Regions from separate parts of the Homo sapiens genome. Here region 2 is linked to region 1. Evidence: promoter capture Hi-C in 16 types of primary human blood cells and fetal thymus (Javierre and others, 2016). All regions are on one chromosome and are shown on one strand. Each heading gives the region's core, a stretch centred on a gene start or on the middle of the fragment in contact. The rest is flanking DNA. Distances are from core to core; before and after follow the strand shown.

What was found. Contacts are between HindIII fragments. The CHiCAGO score rates a contact against its expected background, and 5 or more counts as called.
Region 2: a fragment that was not itself captured here is called in contact with the fragment with the promoter of SLC26A9 in region 1 in 5 of 17 cell types (neutrophils, M2 macrophages, non-activated CD4 T cells and 2 more); the score reaches 9.2 in neutrophils.

What each region holds. Positions count from the first base shown.
Region 1 is chr1:205,941,159-205,945,126 of GRCh38, forward strand. SLC26A9 (solute carrier family 26 member 9) reads right to left here and starts at 2,298. Exons shown (of 21, transcript NM_052934.4): 1 at 2,207-2,298. All of the region lies in intron 2 of SLC26A9-AS1 (SLC26A9 and RAB7B antisense RNA 1), which reads left to right. The HindIII fragment of the contact is 4,358 bases long and covers 1,366-3,968 here.
Region 2 is chr1:206,043,926-206,047,895 of GRCh38, forward strand. No RefSeq gene overlaps it. Among named protein-coding and RNA genes, the nearest start is that of RHEX, 7.3 kb to the right of the region's middle. RefSeq lists an enhancer at 3,658-3,827. The HindIII fragment of the contact is 4,180 bases long and covers 458-3,970 here.

The sequences.
Region 1 (3,968 bases), core at 1,048-3,547:
TTGTTTTGTTTTTTTGTTTTTGTTTTTTGAGGTGGAGTCTCCCTCTGTCACCCAGGCTGGAGTGCAGTGGCACGATCTTGGCTCACCACAGGGTGCACTTCCTGGGTTCAAGCAATTCTCCTGCCTCAGCCTCCCTAGGAGCTGGGATTACTGGTGCGCGCCATGACACCCAGCTAATATTTTTTATATTTTTAGTAGAGACGGGGTTTCGCCATGTTGGCCAGCCTGGTCTCGAACTCCTGACCTCAAGTGATCTGCCCTCCTTGGCCTCCCAAAGTGCTGAGATTACAGGCTGAGCCACTGCGCCCAGCCCCCCAAGGCATTTTTAAACACTCCTTTTCCTTCTACTGTCCCTGTGTTTCCAGGGCAAATCTCTCCCTACTCCTCACCCCAGCCTAATTTCCTCCTCAGTGTAGGGGAGGATGAGATGTCCCTAAGGTGTCTTAGAGACTGCATCCCGTGTAGGAGAGAGATTCACTGATACCACCCCCCAAATCCCCACTCCTTATCTCCAGGCGAACTCTCCCTCCTCTGCACTTTCCCTGCTGGGAATGGGTGCTGGGCTGAGGAAATAGGCTCCAGAAAGAGGGACCAAGGCTAGACTTTGAGAATCACTTCCTAACAGCAAGACTGACAAGGTCATGGGCTCCCTGGAATGGGCACTTGAGGTTAAATTCCTAGAAGTCTTTAAGGAGACTGGGGTTGCTTTCACTTGGAAGCAGGGCCTGGGCAAGGAGACCAGTGAAGGGCCCAGCTGCTCTGGTCCCAGAAATCCAGGCGAAAGCCCAGAGAGGCATCCAGTGAAGATCAACTCCCCTTGAAGGGGTGGCTCTGCCCCTTCCATCTTCCAAGTAGTGACCCCACAGCCCCCAAAGCTTGGTCAGTGTTGAGCTGGTCCTCGATTCCCCCAGCAAGTTCACGGGGGTCAGTCTGGCTGTTTAGTACGGTTTAAGAGGCACTCTTGAATACTGGGTATATGCCAATCTCCGGAAGACTCTGGGCATTAAAAGATAAAGAGGAGTCCGTCTCTGCCCCAGGGTTTATACAAATGAGACTCAGAGAGCAGGTGGCTAGCTCTGGGAAGTGCCTGGGAAGGCCTTCCTGGCAGTGGAGGTGCTCTTGGCCATGCTGGTCTCCATGCTGCCCAAGCAGGGTCTTGCCAGGTTCTGGATGCCAGGGCCAGGATGAGGGAGGTGGGGGAGGACTGTGGGGTTCTGAGAAAGGGTCATCTGCATGAGTGAAGCCACTCAGGGGGAAAGCCCTCTCTCAGTCTGCCCACTTGGGGGGCTGCGTCACTCCAGGGTCTTCTGGTCCTCAGACCCGTGGGGCCAAGTGTAAGGGGGCAGTTGATGCTGGAATAATAGAAGCTTTGTTAGGTCTCAGCTGGGGACCCTCTGGGCTGGTTTTGAGGAATGGGGGCACTGCCTGAGAGTGGCTTGGAACCCCTTGGAGCTGCAGGATGAGGGGTTTGGAGGCTGAGAGCCTGGAGAGCTGGCTGCCCATCCACTGTCCTGGCCCAAGCCCTTCTGTGTTGAAGCATTCACCATTGAGTCGGGCGTCCCAGGTCCAGCTACCGCCCACCCGCCTGCCTGATGGAGCTGGTCCCTTGCTCACCCTCTCCCACTCCTCAGTTTCCTCCCCCTCCACCTCTTCCAACTTCTCAGGACTAATGGGGACACATGGGATTCTGTGTAGTCCATGCTAAGTTCCCCGAGCTGGTGGAGAAGTACATGAGTGAAGGAGGATGTCTGGGCGGTAGAAGGAGGGGGAGACAGCCATGCAGAGTAGGCTGGTGAGTCAAGCATTAAGAGCTTTTCCCTCCAAGACTTGAAAAGAAAGGGAGAGGAGCAGCCCACAGCTTCAAAGGCTGTCGCGGAGGAAGGTCTAACATTTTCCTTTCCCTCGGAGGCCTTTGCCTCGCTCTGTTTCGGGGTCTGGCGACCACCACACCCTCACCCTACTTGCTCCCTCAGTCAAGCCCAGCCTTGCAGCCCAGGTCCTTACATAGACGTGAAGACCCAAAGGGCTCCTCAGAGGGGAAGGGCTGGGAGGCTGCTCTCAGACTCCAGGGGCCAGAGTGTCCTTCCTACTTGTGCTCAGCTTGGCAGTTGGTTCCTGTCATCCCTCCTCTCGGTACCCCTGGTGACTGCCCTCTTGCAGGGATGACCCCAGCCCAGTGGGGTGGGCTGGGCTGGGTGGGGCTTACCAGTGGGTGAGCAAAGCCGGCTGGGCAGGGCTGCAGGTGTGTCTGGGGAGCGGGCAGCCGAAAGGTGTTCCTGAGGTGTGTGAAAGGGCTCTGCTCAAATAATCCAGGGAGGCGTTTATAAATAACTTTTCCTCAGGGCCACGGGGTGAGCCCCGGCTTCTGATTGGCTCAGAGGGGAAGTGGTTTTGAACACTACACCATAGCTAAGCCTGAGGAGATAGGAAAAGGAGATAAGGGGGAAAAGGTCCCAAATGAACAGCCCTTTTTTTGTTTTACCTGGGGAGCAGGGCTGTGTGATGGGAGCTTGGCACTTCCTAAATCCACCCCGAAGACAATAGGTCACATTCAGCGGGGCTCCTGCCCCACCGGCTCCCCCAAGGCGGCCCTGGAGGAGGGGGACGAGGCAGAGGAGGGGGACAAGGCAGGACAAGCTCCTCTGAGCTTGCTGTCCTGCTGCTTATGGGGCTGGGGGTCAGGCCAAAGAGCCTCTTGGACAATGGGAGCTATTGAGGCCACCTGAGGGGTGTGCTCTTGGGGATGCTTGCTTTGAAGATTGGAGATCTAGGGGGTGGGAAGACAGTAGTCCTCTGAACACCCCTGAGGAAGGGGAAGAACCATGTCTGGGAGGCCCTGGGAGCCTTTAGGCGGTTTTGGTTTGTGGTGGAGACCTGGTTCCCAGTTCTGTCCCCAATGTTAAGTTGCTTGTGAGCTCTGTGCCTTGGTCTATCCATCAGTGCAATGGGGGAAATTATTCCTGGCCCCTCAGGTAGTGTGCAAAGAGAACACAGGGGTTTAGAATCTGATAAAAGAGCTCAAGAAACTGGACTTAGAACAATTATATGAGAGGCGACCTGAAGGCTAGCAAATCTCCAGTCACAGCCCTCTGCCGCTTCTAGGAATTAATGTCTCCCTGGGTCATGGCACTGCTCCGGCTGCTGCCAGCAGAGCTGCCCATCCCAGGCCCATTGAGTGCTACGGAAGGACCTCAGAAAGCAATTGTGGACAGGGGCTGGGAGGGTGGGTAGGGGAGTTTCTTAATTTACTTCCTGGGAGGGAGAGTCACTACCCGACACCAGGTGCCCATTCTTTGAGACATCAAGTGCTGCACTGTCCTCGTCCTCAACTGTCCTCCCATCTCTCCAAAAGAAACCAGAGGCTCTGAAGTGGGCTGGAATCAGTGCAGGGGGCTTCAGTAAGGCACCTCTGGAAGTTGGGGCGAAAGTTCCCCATGGTGAAATGAGCTAGCTTCAGTACTTAATAGGGACTCAATAAATATTTGTTAAATGAATGAAAGAGTGAATTGTCTGCAAGCCCAACCCAAGGGATAGTTTGTAGATGCATTGCTTGTGGGGACTAGGGAAACACCCGAGGTCACTCAGAGTTGTCAGGGTGTAGCCAGACAACTGGCTGAAGAGAGCCAGAATTCAAGTGACCCAAGTGTGCCCTGACACCTGGCTGAGGGAAGGATGTGTGCATGGACACTGCCTCGGGGAGCCCTTCCCCAGACCCCTATGTGGACTTAGCTGACATGTTGCACATTCGTTCCTCTGGCTTCCTCTGCTTCACTCTCATAACACTGACCACAATTAATGGTAATTATGTATGGAATTGTCAGTCTTTCTGCAAACACCGTGAACTCCCTGAGGAGGGCAAGGGGGCAGTGCCTCTTTTGTATCCCTACCCACCTAGCCCAGTGCCCGGCACTTAGGAGGAGCTCAATATAGATTTGAGGAATGAATGAACAATTGTATGATAGAGTCTT
Region 2 (3,970 bases), core at 1,298-3,797, 100 kb after region 1:
AGCTGTATCATTTACTGTAGGGAAAAAAATTAATGTTTACATATAGATATATTTGCATTTTGAAAATGTACAAATCTAAAAATAATTGTCAACTGTTCCACGTGGCTTACATCAGGAAATGTACCTCAAGTTATTTAACTGTGTGATATTTAGCACTTCTTACAAGATTCAAAATAACTTCAGTCAACAAATCTGCTATATTTTAATCATTTGGTTTTGCTTTTCATCTGCTACATAATGTGTAAATGCTATTTGGTGTTTATATATAGTATATAATATTTATATATAGTATATAATATTTGGTATATATTTGGTGTTTATATATAGTATATAATATTTGTACAATAATATACAAGTATATGTTTATATAAACAAATATATATTGTATATATACAAATTATTGCATATTTGAAACATACAATATATATTTGTATACTGCTGTAAATTCTATTAAGCTTCTATGCTTTTCGTAAATGAAGAAAATTCCTGTTATTATACTGCTTATACATTTTTGTAGATGATCCTCTGAATGCTAGATATTGTCTTGCCAAAACAGAATTGAGTTTTTTTGTTCAATGTAATATTTTCCTCATCATATAGAATCTGTTTTGCAGCATTAATAATTATATATTTCTAATCAGATTTGAAATTTGAATACTTAGCATTCCTATTGATGTTTATTTCAGATTCTTCATGTTTACAAAAAAATGTGCCAAGTGCTGTACAATCTTTGCATTCTTTCCCATTTTCCAGCTGATTTTTTGTTCTCAAAGAGCTGGCAAAATACAGAGTCCTTGGAAGTATAATAAAATAATCAGAATCTAGTCATTATTATTTCTCCTCACCATTTGGAAAAAATTTGTGTCCATTATATTTCCAAAAACTTCCAACCTGTATTATCTTTTGTAAAGATAAAAAATTTTTTACTTGAGGTGAATAATTTTCAGCAAGAGTACATCTTTGTTTCCTATTCAAACTACTTGGCCATGTGTTTGAATTCTTTGCATTTTTAAAGCTACTTTTTTTTAGATTCATCGATTATTTCTGACAATGGAACTAAAAGGTAAATTCACATCTCACATTTCTGTGACACATTCACTGAAACAAACAGCCCTAAACTCTCTATTTCTCCCTAAATTTATTCAATAATCCAAATAGTTTTACTTTACTTTCTATCTAGACAGCTTTTCATCTTCTAGTTTTAGTTTGATTTTTTTTTCTTATCAGTATCCTGGGAGAAATAATATTATATTAGCTTATTAAATGTTAAAGAAATATTATTAAGGCCGGGCATGATGACTCATGCCTGTAATCCCAGCACTTTGGGAGGCTGAGGCGGGTGGATCACGAGGCCAGGAGTTCAAGACCAGCCTGACCAACATGGTGAAACCCCATCTCTACTAAAAATACAAAAATTAGCCAGGCGTGGTGGCACATGCTTGTAATCCCAGCTACTCAGGAGGCTGAGGCAGGAGAATAGCTGGAACCCGGGAGGCGGAGGCTGCAGTGAGCTGAGACCATGCCACTGTACTCCAGCCTGGGCATCAGAGCGACACTCTGTCTCAAAAAAAAATATATATATATATATATGTGTATATATCTATATACATAATTAAAACATAATAGTAGTTTATCCTAGAACTTAAAACTTTAAAAAATATATATAATAAGCCATGAAACTTTACCAGCAGTTAGCTTTTCTCCTGAAGAAATTTTCTTTAACAACCCATAAACAATAGCTATGATACAATTCACAATTCATGATATAATAGTCTCTAATTTATGAATATAAAATAATTATTTTATGAATATATAATTGCCTATGATCATTAATTACCACAAAAGTGAGTTATGTAATAATAAAAATCCGTAGATCTAAATTAGGAATTCAGAGCTACCATTCAGGCAGACAATATGAACTGTAATGCAAAACTTCAAATTTAGCCAATACACAAATACTAATACAGGATTTAAAAAAAAATTAGATAAAAATCAAAACAAGAGTTGGAAAACAACTCCTTGTTTGGAAGCACTAGTTATTGTGGCACTCGTTACTTAAACCAATAAGGTCTTTGTCAAACACTCTCTGCTTCAGCTTATGAAGTAAATGTCAACCCTGTTAGAAAATCTATTTCCATCTGAAAGAAAATTGTCATAAAAAAGGATCTTTGTTAGAGAAGACATTTTATTGTTATTTGTCAGAAAACTATTTTAATAAGAATATGTCATCTACCTTTAGAGTTAGCAGTTAAATAAAAAAGTGAAAAAAATTCAACATAATGATGTCTGTGATGTGCATAGTTTCTGTCTTTCTTTTTTTTTTTTTTTGAGACGGAGTTTCACTCTTGTTGCCCAGGCTGGGGTCCAATGGTGCGATCTTGGCTCGCTGCAACCTTCACCTCCCGGGTTCAAGCGATTCTCCTGCCTCAGCCTCCTGAGTAGCTGGGATTACAGGCATGCCCCACCACGCCTGGCTAATTTTTTATATTTTTAGTAGAGACAGGGTTTCTCCATGTTGGTCAGGCTAGTCTTGAATTCCCAACCTCAGATTATCTGCCCACCTTGGCCTCCCAAAGTGCTGGGATTACAGGTTGGATAGTTTCTTTAGATGTCATGCCCTTGAGCAATAAACAACCTGAACAACTGTCCTTAGCTACTCCAAAATTTATGTGGTTATTACAGCTAATAAAGATGATATAGAAACAATCTGTGTAGTAAATGAAAGGTAGTTTAAGGGATTTTGAGACCTCTGTTTGGATGCTGGTTTTGTTGTTTGCTAACTGTGACCTGGAGCAATTCACTTATCACTCAGTTACCTCAGCTACAAATGGGGATAAGTATGCCTCATCCTTTAAACTGCTGACCGGAGGTCACACGAGATATCCCCAGTTCTGAGTCGTCAACGAAATCGTAAGATGTGCATAAGGTTTCCATTTTGCACTTGTTAAAAATGTGCTTGCGGCCAGGTGCGGTGGCTCATGCTTGTAATCCCAGCACTTTGAGAGGCCGAGGCCGGTGGATCACTTGAGGTCAGGAATTTGAGACCAGCCTGGCCAACATGGTAAAACCCCGTCTCTACTAAAAATACAAAAATTAGCTGGACATTGTGGTGGGTGCCTGTAATCCCAGCTACTCGAGAGGCTGAGGCAGGAGAATCACTTGAACCCGAGAGGCAGAAGTTGCAGTGAGCCGAGATCACGCCACTGCACTCCAGCCTGGGCGACAGAGTGAGACTCTTGTCTAAATAAACAAATAAGTAAGTAAAATGTGCTTGCTTAAAAAAAATTTTTATTATGTTTTTAAATTGAATGAAGGATATGTGCAGAGCCAGTAAAGGATGGTAATATGGGATCAGTTCCTGTTAAGTCACCTGTGGACAGTTCTGGCTTCACATGTTCACTGGTGCTCTTTTGTAGGAGCCCAAGAGGCTGACAGTTTAATTTTCTTAGGATGCCAAATGTTAAGACACCTGTTTGACGTTTGCAAATAAGCTGCTGTGCAAAATGAAAACCTGATGGTGATCTTTAAAGCAACCCCAACCAATAAATACCTCTGTAATAAACCTCAAGAGGACGCAGGGTTTCTATTTGGAGAAATGAAATTCTGCAAAAGCAACCAGAAAAACATTTAAAGTCCTAGAAATGGTGAGAGTATATGGCTCCACTCGGTTACGGCAGCACATCTGTGGCCAGCCTGAAAAAGAGCAAAGGGAGTGTGTCCAACTTCTCATTCATTCAATGAGCATTTATTGAGGGCTGCTGTGTTCCAGGCACTGGCCTAGAAGCCGGGGAGATAAGTGAAATCAGACATGATCTCAGTCCACTGGGCTCTTGAAGTTCATGAACTGTCTTTCGTGCCCTCTGTCTTCCCAGGTTCTGTTCCTCCCTCCTTCTGCATCCTAGGTGACAGCCTTCCTTTCACCCTCAGGTGTACAATGCTCCCTCTCTTAGCAGTGATTTCAGATGTTCAT